Regions from separate parts of the Homo sapiens genome. Here all the other regions are linked to region 2. Evidence: promoter capture Hi-C in 16 types of primary human blood cells and fetal thymus (Javierre and others, 2016). All regions are on one chromosome and are shown on one strand. The core of a region is centred on a gene start or on the middle of the fragment in contact, and the rest is flanking DNA. Distances in the headings are between cores, read along the strand shown.

Region 1 (3,556 bases), core at 678-3,177, 260 kb before region 2:
CAAAATGCCAACCATCCGGGCAGGTGTGGATGCCACAGTCCATCCCCATTGCATTTCACCCCCACATGGACAGAGGCACACACTCGCACACATTCCCAGCACCTTTGACTGCTGGGGGATGCAGGCCAGGGTCTGCCTGGAGCCTCAGGGTTGGGACTTATCTCCAAAGGAGCCCACACCCCCTCTTCCAGGATGGGCACTGGCTGGCAGCACTTTTTTCCCTCATCACATCCCTGACCCCTGCCCAGCCCACATGCACATGCTGTTTCCTGTCTCCAGGGCCCTAGCCTGTGGATCTCTTCCTCCCATGCACTCCTAGGGTGAATGGGCTCAGCACCAAACCTGGCTGTGCCCATTCCCCACAACCCCAGCTTGGCCTCCTGTGGGAAGGAGAAGGCAGACCTGCCCAGAGGAGAGGGGCAGTGTTCCCACCCACCTGCTCCAGCACAGGAACCAGGGAGGAAAGAAGGGAGAGGGAGGTTCCATTCACCGTTTTCTGGGTTAGCGCTTGATTGGATGTTTCAAGCAAGGGACAAGGTGATGGTGGCTGTAATAGGCTCCTCGTGGGCACCGTCACCCCAGAAGGCCTGGGCACCCATGAGAACCTGTGGCCAGCCCTTTTCATTGGCTGAGTTCCCTGCTGTTGTGCGTGGTGCCATTTTTTTTTTAAACAACATATATAAAAACAAAACAACTGGTTCTGTGTGTATCAACTTAATTTGCATATGAATGAGTGTTGTGTTGTGATTTGCAGTGTTTTGACACCGTGATTGGCTTTGTTTGGGTCTCTCTTCTTTCTGTGAAATTAACTGCTGTGCGTTTTCACTGTTCTTAGAGAAGACCCTGAGCTCCTGGGGTTTTCTTGTCTCACTTCTACCCTGACCTGCTGGGAGCCCACCCCACCCCAGTCCAGCCATGAGGGTATTTCCAGCCTATTCCAATGACTGAAACCCTTCTTGGAAGAAAACGTCTAATGTCGGGGACGTAGGGACGCTTCCAGACTTGCCCTGGCCGGAACCCTGCAGCCTGGGGCCCCAGCCCGCCTGCAGCTCAGCTTTCCCCAACACCCTCAGGACCCAGCCCCAGCCCCGGCAGACCTTCCCTGGGAGCTGCTTAGGTGGTCTCCACAGCGCCCTCTAGGGGCCAAGCAGGGTTCCAGATTCTCCAGCCTTCTGCCAGCTTTAAAACCCTTCACTCAAGCAGCATTACTGTACATGCAATGAAAAATACTATATATGACAGTCAAAACCTGTGTACATATTTCCATGTACATATTTATACATACACACACCTTCCTATTATAAATATATAAAGCATGACATCTCTTTGGCATTCCAAGTTTGTGTTTTTTTAAATCCTTGGAAATACGGCTTTGGAAACCTTTTTCTTCCTTTCCCTCTTTTCTATGTTGTAATAAACATTCATGTGACCTTTCTGGTAGTTTCTCAAATCCCTGTGTCCTCCCGTGTTCCTAATCGGACAGATCTCTGGGACAACGCGCCTTCCTCCCCACCTCTGCAGCCTTTGCTATTGGTTGGCTTTCCGTTATGAAGGCTGTCCTCCCCCAAGGCGGGTCTTGAGTTCTTTCAGACCTTTTTCCCGAATTCCCCTTCTTCCGAAAGGCTTGTGCAAGTTACTCTTCAAACAGCCTCATCTTTGATAATCTGATCCCTTTGCAACCAGGAATTTGCGTGCTAAATCAAGCATCAGGCCCCAGATTGAGTTTACCAAGAATAAGTGTACAGATGCAGCTCATTTCCTGCTGTTAATTGTTAGACTGGTTGATGAGGGAAATGTGGGCAACATACATATTTGACAAAGACTTCTGAATAAATGAGAGTCTGGGTAAGAGTGGTTAGGAGAATGTATAACTACCTGTTCAGTTACAACGAAGGACAGGTTGCACCTGGGAGAGAATTGCATCCACAACCCAGCCAATGCCTTTACTCATAATGGGATGAAGACCTACAGAACTGACCAAATTTGTGGATAAGGAGAAATAAGTATATTAGACGAACAAATCAGAATCCCAAAATCTCCTGACGGGCAGAGGCAATCTAACTCGATGAAATCTAATAGCATTCAATGAAAGAGTTGTGCTTGACATGAAGAAAGCTCCGTGCTTTCCTTCATCCCTGGGGAGTTACTCAACAGGCAGCTCAGTGTTCTTCACGGCATGCTGGGGCTGACTACACAGGCCATCTGGTTTCAGATGCACGAGGAGCTGCAGGCTGGGGTCCGGAATGAAACCGCATCTGCAGCGTTGCATTCAGTACTGGGTGCCATGGGGGAGCAAGTGCTCTGACAACGAGTGTCCAGGTGTCATTCCTGTCACTCACACCCAAGGGAAGGGCCCCGCCCTGCCTCCTGCCATTTCCTCAGGCCAGCCCAGCACCCTTAGGGTCCACTTACCCCAGGAGAGGCTGCAGTCTTAATGGCCTCGATGCTGCTGTTGTCCAAAAGAGTGAATCATCTTCAAAGCACAACCTCTGGTGAGACTTGAAGCTCTACTGCGATGGCCCCTCCAAGGCCCCAGAAATGGCATCTGTGCCTGAGGATGATTTCAGTTGCTGCTAAGACCAGGACCTAAAGCCCAAGGCAGTACAATGACCTAAGGCACTCTCAGAGTCCCCCAGACACTCTAGGGAGCATTTTGTGATCACTTGCATTGTCCAAACACTCGATGTGCTCAGATTAAACTGGAATGCCCCGGCTGGAGGATTCTTCTGCAGTCACTCAGTTTCAGAGGGGCTCATCAGAAGGCACAATGGGAGATAAAGTTAGCTCCCCTTCCAGCACTGCCAAGTGAAGGGAAGATACCATTTGAATGTACTAACTCACATTCCTTCTCTTCTCCCAGCACCAAGCCTCTTAACCTCAGGAAGGGTCACGTGGGTTGAGCCAGCCACTGCCTCTCTGCTGGGGGGTGACAACTTTGACAGAGTTCTCCTCAAACCCAGAAGGAAAGGGCTGTGACAAACATGTAGGCATCTGCTCCCCGCAACTCCCTACACCCCAGACCCTAGGCCCTGGGAGAGGCTCATGCTTGCCAGTGGCCAGTCACAGGAAGGGACACATGAGGATGTGCAGGGGACGAGGGGCTCGAGGAGATGGGAAGGCAGTGCTTGGGTTTGAGGACGGGGTTGGCGATGCATTCCTCAGAGGAGGAGCACAGCCCAAACCTAGTGCAGTGAGAGTCCCAGGTGGGGGACCCTGGGAGGCACATCAGTGCAGGCTGCATGTTGGGCCACCGAAACCAGAGGATGGGTCTTCATTCCCAAGAGGACCAAGATGGACATTTCTGGGCTCCTAATACCAAGTCAGCCTCTGAGTAAAGCCTTAGGGAAGGGTCATGGGACCCAAGATTCAGTTTACATAAAACACGTCAGGAACAACTTGGGGTGATAAAGTTGCAGGACTTTTCCTTAGTTCAGCCAAGAAAATTCAGGCTCACAGACAATTTGAATGGTGAGTGAGACAGGGTTTTATTGGGTGAAAAGGAAGAAAAGGGGGAAACAGGGAGTCTCGCTGGGCCAGAGACCCTGCTAGAGCGCTT
Region 2 (3,848 bases), core at 911-3,410:
AAGCCAAGACAATTCAATAGGAAAAGGACAATCTCTTCAACGAATGGTGCTGGGACAACTAGAAGTCCACATGCAAAACAATGAACTTGGACCCTAACCTCACACTACATACAAAAATTATCTTAAAATGGATCAACAACCTAAATATAGGAGCTAAAACTATAAAACTCTTAGAAGAAAACACAGGAGTAAATCTTCACAACCTTGGATTTGACAATGATATCTCACACAGGACACCAAATGCACAAACAACAAAAGAAAAAACAGTTAAGCTGAAGTTCATCAAAATTAAAGTTTTATGTGCATGAAAGGACATCAGAAAGTGAAAAAGACAATTACAGAATGGGAGAGAAATATTTGCAAAGCATATATCTGATAAGGGTCTAGTGTCCAGAATATATAAAGAACTCTTACAACCCAACAACAAAAAGACAACCCAATTTTAAAATGGGCAAAGGACTTGAATAGGCATGTCTCCAAAGAAGATATACAGATGGCCAACAAACACATGAAAAGGAGAATGCTTAATAGCATTAGTTATTAGGAAAATGTAAACCAAAACCAGAATGAGGTACCGCTGCACACCTACTAGGATAACAATAAAATGGAAAATAACAAGTGTTGGTGAGGATGTGGAGAAATTGGGATCCTGTACATTGCTGGTAGGAATATAAAATGGTTCAGCCATCGTGGAAACCACTTGGGGTTCCCCAAATAGTTAAACACTGAAGGCTGGGCACGGTGGCTCATGCCTATAATCCAGCACTGTGGGAGGCCAAGGCAGGCAGATAACTTGAGTTCAGGATCAAGACCAGCCTGGCCAACATGGGGAAACCCCATCTCTACTAAAAATACAAAAATTAGCCAGATGTGGTGGCACACACCTGTAACTCCAGCTACTCAGGAGGCCGAGGCAAGATAATTGCTCGAACCTGGGAGGCAGAGGTTGCAGTGAGCCAAGATTGCGGCCACTGCACTCTAGGCTGGGCAACAGAGCAAGGCTCTGTCTCAAAAAAAAAAAAAAATTGAATTACCATGCGATCCAACAATTCAACCCCTATGTATGTACCCTCCCCAAATAAAAATGGGCTCTCAAACAAATACATGTACATGCATGTTCATGGTAGCATTATTCACAAAGCCAAAAGATGCAAACAGCCCCAATGTCCATAGATGAATAAACTGTGGCATACATGATACACACACACACACGCACACACATATACATATACACACACAAACACTATTCAGTCATAAAAAGGAATAAAGTCTGTTACATGCTACCTGAGGATGAACCTCGAAAACATGCTAAGTGAAAGACACAAAAGTCCACACACTGTGATTCCGTTTATATGAAGTATCTAAAGTAAGTAAATATAGAGACAGAAGTAGACTGGTAATTGCCAGGGGCTGGGGGGGAAGAGGGCATTGGGAAGAAACTTCTCAATGGGTATGGGGTTTTTCTTTCGGAATGAGGAAAATGTTTTGGAACTAGACAGAGGTGGTGGTTGCACAGCATTGTGAATTCACTAAATGCCACTGAAATGCCCACTTTAAAATGGTAAATTTTATGTTATGTGAATTTCACCTTAAGTTAAAAAAAAAAAAGTAAAACTACTCAGACAACGCCAAATTATTGACAATCTCAACCTACCCCACAGACCCCAAATCCTGGAACCACAACCCCCTAGGCCAATTCTCAGGTCAGGCAGCAATTTATTCCTGTTCAATTTTATGCAGAGCTCCTGGTGGCTCTGAAGCGCCCTAGGGAACAGACCAGGAACATTCTCATGGTGTTAGCTCACATTGGGCCATTAGTGCTCCTTTAATGTGAGAACAACCGGGAGGAGGAGGGGATGTGGACCCAAAACTACAAGAAAGAGTGTCCTCGAAGCCTATGTCCTACCGCCCCACGCTGCTGCCAGGCCCGCAGGAAGATGACAGGCCCGGCCTCCACTCCTTCTAAGGTCGTCGCTTAGTTCCGACGTCGGGATGACCCTGTCATCCACGCGGCGTGAAGGCCACCCTCCCCGCGCGCCCGGGACTCCAGGTGGGGCCCCAGTGGACGAGGGAACGCGGCGTCGCCCACCGGGCGTGGCCTGGGCGGGCGTGGGGCGGGGCCTGGGCCGGCGCCGGGTCCGGCCGGGCGCTCAGCCAGCTGCGTAAACTCCGCTGGAGCGCGGCGGCAGAGCAGGTGAGCGGGCGGTGCCGGGGGGTGCCCAGGCCAGGGCCCTGTCGCCTGCGGCGCTGAGGGCCCGGGGTGGGGCTGCGCCCTGAGGGCCCTGCCCTGCCCTCCGCACGCCTCTGGCCACGGTCCCTTCCCCGGCTGTGGGTCTGCGGCCCCTGCGTGCGCAGCGCTCCTGGCCTCTGCGGCCAGCGCGGGGGCGGAGAGAGGAGAGTGCCCGGCAGGCGGCGGCTGGGCCGGCCCGGAACTGGGTCGTGGAAGGATCGCGGGGAGCGGCCCTCAGGCCTTCGGCCTCACTGCGTCCCCACTTCCCTGCGCCCGCCTGCCGCCGAGCCCCGGCTGGGGGTGGGCGCGGCGCGAGCGGTTAAAGGGCCGGTGCATTTAAAGGAGCGGTGCACGTGGGTCTCTGAGGCGTGTAGCAGGCGGGGGCGTTTTGTTCTTCTTCTCTCTCGCCGGAGACCTCCGTTGCGCCGAGTCCATTCGGCCTCTAGCACCGGGTCCTGGGCATGCTTTCCCCGGGAAGGAGGCGCGCGGGGGCTCTGCCCGCACGTGAGGGGCAGGGCCGCAGGCTCAAGCCTAGAGCCGGTTTCTGTTAGCAGCGGTGTTTGGCTGTTTTATCAGGCATTTCCAGCAGTGAGGAGACAGCCAGAAGCAAGCTTTTGGAGCTGAAGGAACCTGAGACAGAAGCTAGTCCCCCCTCTGAATTTTACTGATGAAGAAACTGAGGCCACAGAGCTAAAGTGACTTTTCCCAAGGTCGCCCAGGTACGATATAGCAGAGCCAGGCTTCGACCCCAGTGTCCTGGCTTCTAGATCTGCTGTCCATCCCTCCGAGCAGACCTCACCCCTGTTTATTGCCTTAATAAGTATTCCCTTTGAAAGGTATGAACGGTGTTGAGTGAAGTAACTGCATCCCTATTTACAAATGGAGAACCTGAGAGCATTCCATAGAGACGATTGTAGACTAACTTAACTCAGAAGCGACAGCCTGGGGTTGCCAAGGCTGTCTACGAAGTAACTTGATTAGGACCGACCCCAGCTTCCAGTAAGGAAGCCTCTGATGCCTCTGTAGCCAATTCTGCAGACACCTGAGCCTCCAAGGCCTTCAGCCAAGACCTTTGGCGGTAATTGGAGTCTCGGGATAAGCTGCTTCAGGTGTGTGAGCCTCAGGTTCTTCTCTCCTGAATGTGGTTGTGGGCAGCCGGTGACTGGCGCAGGTGCAGAAGGGGCCTGGTTCTTGGCCCCACCTCAGAGCTGCGTCCTCACGACGCCCACGTTGAGCCTTGGGTTCCAGGGCAGAGACTGGAGTGAGGGCTTGGGGGCATGTTGCTTTGAAGTGGGATGGATGTATCAGGTTTTTGGGGAAAACTCTGTACCCTTTGGTGTTGAAGTGCCCATGTGCCAAGTCTTGAGTCCAGCATGTTCACATGTGGGGAGTGAGTGGCTTGTTCCTGTCTATTTGAAAGAGCAGCAAGGAGGAGGAGGAGCAAGGGCTAGGGGCTGCTGCTGGGGTGCCTGGAGCTGTGGTGCATAATGTCACACCTGTCTCCCCTCCGTAGCTGCTCACCGTCCCCCCAAGGGGGGTTTGCCTCTTGCCTACTTTGGCCTTTCTCTGTTATCGATGTTAATAATGACATATATCTCGCTTATGAGTTGGTCATAAT
Region 3 (3,697 bases), core at 617-3,116, 320 kb before region 2:
CACGGAAACACCCAGATTTGTATTTGATTAGATACCTCAGAGAAGTGTGTGAAAACTACAAAATGGCTGCTGCCTCCCTTCTGCCTTCCAACTCTTGAGCAAGAATATTCCCATTGGCCCAACATAAATGGAAACTAACTAGAAAGGGAATTCTGTGGGCTAGAGTTGAGCCTAGCCAAGTTGATACATCAAAAAGACATTACATCCATACTTTTTTCCCCATAAACTAAATTTGAGTTGTGTTCCATCACTTGGCATGAAAAAGCTTCTGATTCAGTTGCCATTTACTTATTGAGTGCCTTATACGTATTATCTCACTTAATCCTCTTATACACAAATGAGCTAGGTATTATTTACAATTTTGAAGACCGAAGCTCAGAGAGGTTAAAAAACTTTTTCAAAGGCTCAGAGCTTCAAACAAAGTTTGTCTTTCCACTGCTGATGCTATGATGCCAGTCTTTGCCAAAAAGGAACCACCTGGAAGCTCTCTTCCAGGTTGGAATAGGAATTCCTCATGCAGTTTGGAAGCTGACTTCAGCAAATTTTTATTTTAGCTAAAAAATGTCCAAAACTTGATGTACTTTATTCATCTGATGACAGAACAAGGCCAAGAAATATATTTTTATCTTCATGACCCAGTGCTTGGCCCAGATGTATTATTTGGCTGATGTAATGAACTGTTTGGTCTGTTTCCCCTGTTGCGTTTGTGTCTGATTTTTTGAGATGATCATTTAAGGTTTTAACTTTTATTCGGAAGCCTCTTCCTCCCTGAAATACCTTAGATCTTAAACTCTCCTACAAACATCAGCTGCAATCACAATGTCAAGTAGATGCTGTATAAACCTCTTGCAAGAGCGGTAAGGAAAAAAGGAATGTACAGATGAACAATATAAGAAATGAAAGAGGAGACATCATTACAGCTTTGACAGACATTAAAAAGATAAGAGGAAAGTAGAAAAAGTTTTATGCCAACAAATTCCATAACTTCCACGAAATGGACACGTTCCTAGAAAAGGGATACATAGCATGTGAGACATTTTAGCTAGGATCTCAGAGAGTTAAATCTCCCAACTGCCAAATCTAAGGGCACTTTTGGGGTTTTACCTTACCCTTCAGTGAATTTGACACTGCTGACTGCATCCTCCTTAAAATCTTCCTGTTTTGGCTTCCATGAAACACTGTTAGTAGTGTTTCTCCATGTAAACCTCGTTTCCCTCCTTTTTCCTTTCTGCTTAATTACAGAAATTCTGTAACTTTTTTTTTTTTTTTGAGACAGAGTCTCACTCTGTTGCCTAGGCTGAAGTGCAGTGGTGCGACACGGCTCACTGCAGCCTCGACCTCCCCATGCTCAGGTGATCCTCCCACCTCAGCCTCCTGAGTAGCTGGGACTAGAAGTGTGCACCACCACGCCCAGCTAATTTTTGTATTTTTCGTACAGATGGAGTTTTGCCATGTTGCCCAGGCTGGTCTTGAACTCCTGGGCTCAAGTGATCCTCTTGCCTCAGCGTCCCAGTGTTGGGATTACGGGCATGAGCCACTGCGCCCAGCCTCTGTGACTTTTTAAATTCCACATCTGCATACAGGGCTCTAACTACCATTTGTATGCTGATGGCTCCCAAATCTGCAGCCCCAATTGCTTCCTTGATTCTCGATTTGACTCAATATCCAACTTTTATCAAGACAATTATCTATGCTGGCCATTTATCAATGAGTCCCCGCTACCTCTCGGATGTGTTCAGACCCTTCAAACTCATTTCCTCCTTGTCTGCTATTAATACCCAGTTTTCATTTGGGAACTGTCCCTACCCCATTCTCAGTCCTTTTCAGTCAGGAAGAGTCCTCCTCCCCCTCAGCCTCTATATAAGCATGTGACCTGATTTTATCCCCTCCAGCCCATCTTCCACACTGTGAACAAATATATCTCATAATGGTGGTGGTTTTAAAGCCTAGGCCCAAGTCTTTGACACCCCTCCATAGAGAGGCGGGGTGTCCCCCATGAAATCTGGGCAGGCTTGTGACTGCATCGACCAGTAAAGCCCTGCAGAAGTGACACTGTGTGACTTCCAAAGTTAGGGCAGAAAAGTCCAAGTCCACACAGCTTCCACTGGTCCTGCAATGTTCATTCTCTGGGGGCCTCCTCTCAGGAAATTCCCTCTCAGAAGCCAGCTGTCATAGTGTGAAAAGTCCAAGTCACGTGGGGAGGCCATGTGTAGGCGCTTTGCTGACCCATCCTAGTTGACCCAGCTTTCAAGTTACCCCAGTCCAGGCAGGCTGAGATTCCTGAGAATCTTCTCAGAAGTGGATCCTCTAGCCCCAGCTGTTCCAGCTATCAGCCATTTCAGTCTCCCGAGCTGAGGCTCCAGATACAAGGAGCAAAGAAGAATTATCTTGGTGTGCTCTGTCCAAGCTCCTGACCACAGAATTTGTGATCAGAAAAAAATGGTTGTGTTAAGCTGCTAAATTTGGGGGTAATTTGTGACACAGTGATAGTAACTGGAACACTTATGCCACACCCCTGCTTAAAATGTTCCAGTGATTCTGCATCACCACCACCGAGATGAAGTCCAAATTCCTTTGCCATTCAGTACTAGATGCCTGTCCACCCCACCAGATCCATCTCCTGTCTCTGCCCACACAAGCCCTAGTGCCAGCCACACTGCAATTCCTGGAATCATCCCTACTTCCCTGGGCTCCCATGCCTTTGTATATTTTGTTGCTCTGCCTGGATGTCTTTCTGACATCCAAGATATTCAGCAAATCATCTGGAAAACTGGGGGATGCAAATCCACTGACGTCCCTGAAATCCTTTTTCTCCAGGAGGAATGATTGACTGGCCCTAAGACAGTTCAAGTGCTCTGCAAAAGAATATTCACAGAATGTGGGTTATTTTCTAGGTCTCTGAATAAAATACTGGTTATATAGAATTGATTCTGGAGCCAGATTGCCTGCATTCAGCTGCCAGCTCTACCACTGATTAGTGGGGGACTTTGTGCAGCCTGTTTAACTTCTCTGTGCTTCAATTGCCCCATCTGTAAAATGGGGTAATAAATAATCCTTACTTTGTAGAGTTATGGTAAGGATTAAAAGAGTTAAAATGTGTAAAGGGTTTTTAGAATGATGCCTGGCAGAGAGTGCTTGGGTAAATAAGTGTTTGTTGAAAATAAAACAAATCTGCAAATAGTTAACTGTAGTCATTGCTCAAGTCCCTTTGAGTATCGCCTTCTTTGGGACACCTCCCCGAGGCCTCCCCCACGCTAGCTGGCTTCACAGATAGGTCCATGTTGTCGCAGCACCTCCAGCACATCACAGCTGCAACATTCCTCACTGTTTCTGTAAGTCTATCTTTGTAGTTGTCAGTATCTCTCAGCTCATTTCTTAGATTCTTGAAGGCAGAGGCTGGATTTTACTCATTTCTCTCTCCCTGGAATCTAAGTCTTAGTAGGCCTTCAATAATTGTGTATTAAATGGAAGCTTGCTATGATTTTAACCAACACAGTAACTCCAGGCCAGAAAAGGCTAAGCGAGTTCTTCTAAGCCATACAGGTTTTAGTGGCTGAACAAAGACTAAAATTTTTAACCCTGTTCTTCTGACTGCCAAACCTAAGCTAATGACTCGTGTGTGTGTGTATCTGTGTATGTGTACACACGCATGTGTGTGTCCACCAGTATCATCACTAACCCCTGGCCATTTGCTTTT

Evidence for each region. Contacts are between HindIII fragments. The CHiCAGO score rates a contact against its expected background, and 5 or more counts as called.
Region 1: a fragment that was not itself captured here is called in contact with the fragment with the promoter of PSEN2 in region 2 in 3 of 17 cell types (total CD8 T cells, naive CD8 T cells and erythroblasts); the score reaches 5.7 in total CD8 T cells.
Region 3: a contact is called between a fragment that was not itself captured here and the fragment with the promoter of PSEN2 in region 2, in 2 of 17 cell types (M1 macrophages and M2 macrophages). The highest score is 5.9, in M1 macrophages.

Annotation. Positions count from the first base shown.
Region 1 is chr1:226,607,781-226,611,336 of GRCh38, forward strand. STUM (stum, mechanosensory transduction mediator homolog) reads left to right here. Exons shown (of 4, transcript NM_001003665.4): 4 at 1-1,450. Among named protein-coding and RNA genes, the nearest start is that of STUM, 61 kb to the left of the region's middle. The HindIII fragment of the contact is 6,073 bases long and covers 1-3,556 here.
Region 2 is chr1:226,868,456-226,872,303 of GRCh38, forward strand. It overlaps PSEN2 (presenilin 2), which reads left to right and starts at 2,161. Exons shown (of 13, transcript NM_000447.3): 1 at 2,161-2,194; 2 at 2,807-2,949. LOC105373119 (a long non-coding RNA gene) reads right to left here and starts at 2,095. Exons shown (of 3, transcript XR_949226.4): 1 at 1,907-2,095. RefSeq lists silencers at 1,964-2,563, 2,574-2,623. The HindIII fragment of the contact is 3,629 bases long and covers 1-2,839 here.
Region 3 is chr1:226,543,838-226,547,534 of GRCh38, forward strand. No RefSeq gene overlaps it. Among named protein-coding and RNA genes, the nearest start is that of STUM, 3.1 kb to the right of the region's middle. The HindIII fragment of the contact is 3,206 bases long and covers 264-3,469 here.